2 separate regions of the Homo sapiens genome follow, and region 1 is linked to region 2. The links are contacts of gene promoters, found by promoter capture Hi-C in human tissues and cell types (Jung and others, 2019). All regions are on one chromosome and are shown on one strand. Each heading gives the region's core, a stretch centred on a gene start or on the middle of the fragment in contact. The rest is flanking DNA. Distances are from core to core; before and after follow the strand shown.

Evidence for each region. The method cuts DNA at HindIII sites, captures the fragments that hold promoters and counts their contacts. A contact is called where the count stands out against the background at its distance.
Region 1: a fragment that was not itself captured here is called in contact with the fragment with the promoter of FAM81B in region 2 in 1 of the 25 tissues and cell types used here (pancreas).

What each region holds. Positions count from the first base shown.
Region 1 is chr5:95,355,404-95,358,754 of GRCh38, forward strand. No RefSeq gene overlaps it. Among named protein-coding and RNA genes, the nearest start is that of FAM81B, 34 kb to the right of the region's middle. The HindIII fragment of the contact is 3,102 bases long and covers 513-3,351 here.
Region 2 is chr5:95,389,898-95,393,212 of GRCh38, forward strand. It overlaps FAM81B (family with sequence similarity 81 member B), which reads left to right and starts at 1,469. Exons shown (of 10, transcript NM_152548.3): 1 at 1,469-1,616; 2 at 2,897-3,000. The coding sequence starts at 1,493. LOC105379089 (a long non-coding RNA gene) reads right to left here and starts at 1,275. Exons shown (of 3, transcript XR_948586.1): 1 at 1,173-1,275. RefSeq lists an enhancer at 2,629-3,315. The HindIII fragment of the contact is 13,198 bases long and covers 677-3,315 here.

The DNA.
Region 1 (3,351 bases), core at 814-3,313, 34 kb before region 2:
TTCATGTTGTAATTGTTGTTAATTTCCACTTGAGGGTAATGATTTCTTCAGCAGGTATGGGACCAATTAATGTTTCAGGAATTATGTAAGAGGTTGCATATGGAAACCCAAAGTAACTGGTGCCATAATTCTGACTTATCCCAAGTATATCTTTTTTTTTCATTCTTTCCTTTTATTGTTGCTGAGAATATCATATTCTTACTTTTAAACAACTCTGACAAACATAGTATTTTCTTTTTATTTATTTTTATTATACTTTTAAGTTCTAGGGTACGTGTGCACAACGTGTAGGTTTGTTACATGCGTATACATGTGCCATGTTGGTGTGCCGCACCCATTAACTGGTCATTTACGTTAGGTATCTCCTAATGCTATCCCTCTCCCCTTCCCCCACCCCACAACAGTCCCCGGTGTGTGATGTTCCCCATCCTGTGTCAGTGTTCTCATTGTTCAATTCCCACCTATGAGTGAGAACATGTGGTGTTTGGTTTTTGTCCTTGCAATAGTTTGCTGAGAATGATGGTTTCCAGCTTCATCCATGTCCCTACAAAGGACATGAACTCATCCTTTTTTATGGCTGCATACTATTCCATGGTGTATATGTGCCACATTTTCTTAATCCAGTCTATCATTGATGGACATTTGGGTTGGTTCCAAGTCTTTGCTATTGTGAATAGTGCCTCAATAAACATACGTGTGCATATGTCTTTATAGCATCATGATGTGCAATCCTTTGGGTATATACCCAGTAATGGGATGGCTGGGTTAAATGGTATTTCTAGTTCTAGATCCTTGAGGAATCGCCATAGTGTCTTCCACAATGGTTGAACTAGTTTACAGTCCCACCAACAGTGTAAAAGTGTTCTTATTTCTCCACATCCTCCTGTTGTTTCCTGACTTTTTAATGATTGCCATTCTAACTGGTTTGAGATGGTATCTCATTGTGGTTTTGATTTGCATTTGTCTGATGGCCAGTGATGATGAGCATTTTTTCATGTGTCTGTTGGCTGCATAAATGTCTTTTTTCAAAAAGTGTCTGTTCATATCCTTCGCCTACTTTTTGATGGGGTTGTTTGATTTTTTCTTGTAAATTTGTTTAAGTTCTTTGTAGATTCTGGATATTAGCCCTTTGTCAGATGGGTAGATTGTAAAAATTTTCTCCCATTCTGTAGGTTGCCTTGTTCACTCTGAGGGTAGTTTCTTTTGCTGTGCAGAAGCTCTTTAATTTAATTAGATCCCATTTGTCAATTTCGGCTTTTCTTGCCATTGCTTTTGGTGTTTTACTCATGAAGTCCTTGCCCATGCCTATGTCCTGAATGGTATTGCCTAGGATTTCTTCTAGGGTTTTTATGGTTTCTATCCCAAGTATATCTTAACATGGCTTATAAACTAGTGACTCCACTGACATGTTTTCTTATCCCGCCTTTGACCTGTCATCCTTTTGGAGCAAGCCATTGCATAGATTTAATCTCAGTACAAGGGTAGCTATTGTCCCTGGGCCATAACTAAGTCAAAGGGTTATTTTCTCTGAGACTTCACTTTCTGCGGTAGGTGCATTCTGCCACTATCCCAAAGGGAGACGAAGAGCTCTGTCCCCAGACCACCTTCATTCCCTGTCATTCTAATGTATGTCTTTTACTCCATCCTACAGGCTCAGTGAGACCACAGCAGGTCCTCAGCCCATCTCTCACCCTGAATATTTCCTAGGAAGGAGTCAGACACCAGTTCAGTGTGTCCTCCTAACTTAAGGGGACACATGTCATATTCTCCAACAGATCCCATCAAAGCCCCTCTCTCTTGACTCGGCCTGCAAGGGAAGTACCCACACACATATAAACCTTTCCTCCTTGAGGACTAGGTGTCCGATGAAATCCTTTTCACAAATTCTCCCTGATCTCCAACAACTGACCTTCTTTATCCTTGAGGTAATAGAGAGGTGTCTGAATCATATAACTACTTTTGGGGTATTTGCTTGGAAATTCCTATAGGATGCTCTCACAGCTCATATTTTGATGTGATACTTATCACCCAAGGATTCAGCCAAAACTTCCATTTTAACTTTCGGTTCCCAGCAAGAACTAATAGCTAGCTCATAGCAGCACCAAAACCCCATAAAGTCTGCAAGATAAAAAAGATCCTTTACCAACTACGTTTAAGACAACAACCCTCCATAATATCACATCTGGAGAACAATCACTTCATGACCACCTTGTACACTATGTTTTAGTCTCTGAAGCTACATACCTTTTGGGGAGAGAGCTTGATGAACACCATTGCTTTGACTCATTCTAAACACAAGCCACCTTGGCTGCCTGACATATCCCTCTCTTTAATCTACCTGGTAAATAGTGTCAGATTCATTCCCCATGTGTACTGCAGATTAAAAAGGCACCCAAGTTCAGCTCAGCAGCATTTCAAAAGTCAAAACTGCTATAAATAAATACAAGACATCTTTCCATTCTGAAGTTTGGTAATTCAAGACTATGCATCTTTGTGTTTGGGGCCCTCTAAATAACAGGGCAGATAAATCCATAGTTTGACATTAGATGAGGCATGGAGTCTTCTAAATATTTACAGAAGCAGTAGGTTCTTTAATTATTTTGGAATAGCAATTATAAAAATAATGCATGCTCACTAATTAAGTACCAATGCTGACCTGGATAAAGAACAGCATCTAAATAAATACTTGAATTCTACCATCTAAAATATCCATGATTAAAAGGAGATAAATGTCATTTTAGACACGGTTCTATCCATACAAACGAATATATAATAGATAGCTAGTTTAAATAGCTAGATAGATAAATGGAGAGAAATACCTCCTTCTTTTAAAAGCAAGAATACAATTGAAAATACCATCAAATACATCCAAGCTTCTTTCTAAGCATTAATTACATTATACTGCATTTCATTCATTTAAAATATCAGGGCTCTGTTTTGTCTCTAAGAAAAGAAGCAAAAAAGGGAATCCCCTTCGGAGATGTCTGGGGAAAAGTTAGATTAGAAAGCCAAGGCAGATTCCTGCAATTTCCACAAAAGCACTGGCAGATACTGGAGCAGAGAGAGACTGTGAGAGGCTGAGAGCTGAGAGTGCCTGGGGACCAGAGGAAGTTTATGGTTATGCTTCATTTGAACAGGAAGATAGTTACAAGGGTATTTGATCTCTCACACTTTGCTCGCTCTTGAGTTGTGGTCTTGTTTATTGATCATTTTACTTATATTAAAGATAAAATTGTGTCTGTGAATGAATATCCATGGCCCTATTTTCAATAGCAAATGCTTCCTACATACTCTATTAGGTTCTGGAGATACAGAGACCATCCCTGCACTTAAGATATTTGCAGTTCATCA
Region 2 (3,315 bases), core at 219-2,718:
CAGTGAGCCAAGATCGCACTATTGCACTCCAGCCTGGGTGACAGTGCAAGACTACAACTCAAAAAAAAAAAAAAAAGAATGGCAATTACATTTCAACATGAGTTTTGGTGGAGAGATTCAAACCAGAGCAGACATTAATAATATACATATATATTATGTGCATTGTTATGTTAAAATTGAATAGCCATTTATGTTTAGAGAACAAACCTACCAAAATTGTCCATTTTAGTAGGGCCCATTTTTCTAACCAAATACCATGGATTAAAAGCTGAATTTAAGAAGAGAAAGAATCTTAAAAAGTTGTTAAGCAAGGTTAAATCTAGTTTTTCTTTCTCACACAGACTCTGCTTGTGACTGTTTCTTGGATAATTGGCACCTTGTGAAATAATCGCTAATAATAGTTATCTTTTAGTGGATTCCTGGCACCGCCCTCAGCTGAGCGCTGTAAGTATATTATTACATTTAATCCTCTCAACCATCTTATGGGATCGATATTATTAGCTCATTTCACAGAGGAGAAAGTTGAGGCTTAAAGAGGTGATGTAATTTTGTCCAAACTAAACAGCTGGTAGGTTGAGGAGTCAGGGTTCCAATCCACTCTCTCAGAATCTGTAGCCACCTGCTCTTAGTCACTGCTGTGTGTCAGTCTCCCTTGGCACTAGATACAATGGTGATTAGGGTAGCATAATGAGCCTTTTGGACTGCTTGCAAACCATGAACTACTGCATCTTTGAGTTTTAAGGGCTTAGCTTAGGACTAGGGGATATGCATGGAAGCCCAAATCATAGGTGTCCTTTATCTGTGGGATCAAAGTTTGTCACTCAGCATCCTGAACATTGTGTGCCTTTAAACAAGGCAAATCTGATACCATAATTTGGACAACAACTTAGCCAAAGCATCATTTCTGTATATGGAGGCCAAGTAGTACTAACAAACATGCAAATTCTAATTTTAAAACTCAGACAAACATTTTACAGCTAAAACAATCCACCCCCTTTTGGCTAAATAACTGAACAAAATTTCCCCTACAAAGGCAAAGTTCAATATTTTCATTTCTGTAAAACTCTGACCCATGTCACTTTTCATCAGTGCTGCACTATCTGTGAAGTCCCCTTCTAACCTAGAAGAGTTAGCTTCCTCCCTAACATACTTGGAGAAAGATTTGGGCATACCGCAGCATTTCATTTCCTCTTTGTCTAGCTTGATGATAACTCGTCACTTTTCAAACTGTGAAGATGAAATCAGGAGAAGAGTGTGAAATATCAGTATAACAATGGCCACTTCCCACCCCATGAGACAAAGAAGTGAAAGGCTTAGTGATTTGTATGATGATGAGCACTACAGAAAACATTCAAAGCTTCTAAATCCCAGGGATTTCCTGACTTCAGTTGTGAGGGCCAGCCACACTGACATCATAGATCCTTCCTGCAGTCACAATGCTACTAAGTCACCCTTGGGAAGAGGCCCCAGAAACAGGAAGACCTTAGTTAGGATGCAATTACAATTCCTTGGTACATTGGCTTCCTCAGAAAAAAGAAAAAAATCACAGAGATTGTTTTTCAAAAATATCAAATCTACAAAAAATAAAGCTGGAAAAGCAAGCATCATGAGTTCAGGTACTTATGGACTATTCGAGGTCTCTAAATTTCTCCTACTTCACTATCTTTCTTCTGTTTCTTATTACATATAAACAAAATAATGAATCCCAATGAAGACCCTCAGAAGGCTTGGGCACAACAGAGTAATAACTTAAACAAATGTACAAGAAAAAAAAACCCCATCAAAAAGTGGGCAAAGGATGTGAACAGACACTTCTCAAAAGAAGACATTTATGCAGCCAAAACATACGAGAAAAAGCTCATCATCACTTGTCATTACAGAAATGCAAATCAAAACTACAATGAGATACCATCTCATGCCAGTTAGAATAGTAACCATTAAAAAGTCAGGAAACAACAGATGCTGGGGAGGATGTGGAGAAATAGGAACGCTTTTATACTGTTGGTGGGAGTGTAAATTAGTTCAACCATGTGGAAGACAGTGAGGTGATTCCTCAAGGATCTAGAACTAGAAATACCATTTGATCCAGCAATCCCATTAATGGGTATATACCCAAAGGACTATAAATCATTCTACTATAAAGACACATGCACACGTATGTTTATTGCAGCACTGTTCACAATAGCAAAGACTTGGAACCAACCCAAATGCCCATCAATGATAGACTGGATAAAGAAAATGCCGCACATATACACCATGGAATACTATGCAGCCATAAAAAAGGATGAGTTCATGTCCCTTTGCAGGGACATGGATGAAGCTGGAAACCATCATTCTCAGCAAACTAACACAGGAACGGAAAACCAAACACCACATGTTCTCACTCACAAGTGGGAGTTGAACAATGAGAACACATGGACACAGGGAGGGGAACATCACACACTGGGGCCTGTTGGGGGTTGGGGGCTAGAGGAGGAATAGTATTAGGAGAAATACCTAATGTAGATGATGGGCTGATGGGTGCAGCAAACCACCATGGCACGTGTATACCTACGTAACAAACCTGCATGTTCTGCACGTGTATCCCAGGACTTAAAGTATAATTTAAAAAAAATACATTCCTGATTATTTTAGAGCTGTCTGATCCTAAAAAAGTTTCTAAAGGTCTTATAGAAGTATCTGTAAAGAAATGCTCTTCTAGCTAACTATAGATGTTATGGGGGGATGGGGGAGAATTGGGATAAGTGAGGAGAGGGGAAATGTAAAGCAAATTGAAAGCCTCCCTTTAAGCCAAGCTATATGTACAGAAACTGCCCTCAATTAAAAAAAAATTAGCAGCACTGCAAAAATTCACTTGTCATAGTTCCTGACCTGATTCAGCATTCTGGTTACCTAGATACAAATGTAAACAAAAGTGCCTCTCCAACTGCGACTGCAGAGGAACAGCCAGTTGAACCTGATGGCCCCCTTCCTGGCTCAGACAATAACCAAGAAAAGAAAGCAAGTACTTTTCAATATTCACATTAAAAGTAGAATACTTTGCTCAGCTTCTTTAAAGTTTAGAGTGCTTAGAGAGTTTAAGAAGTTCTGGAAGAATAGTTCTCCCACATTTCCTGTTTGTTCTGTCTTGGCAAAATGGCTGCTGAAAACACAAGCTGAAAAGAAAAATGACCTCAATTTACAATTTCATTAATTAGACTGATTTTTAATATATGGGGCTAAAATTCTTTTAAGTTGATCATTATGTATGTTTTATGATGATTCAAAAGGAACCATGATAAACTCAAGGTGCAGACTTTATCTTTATCTCTAACA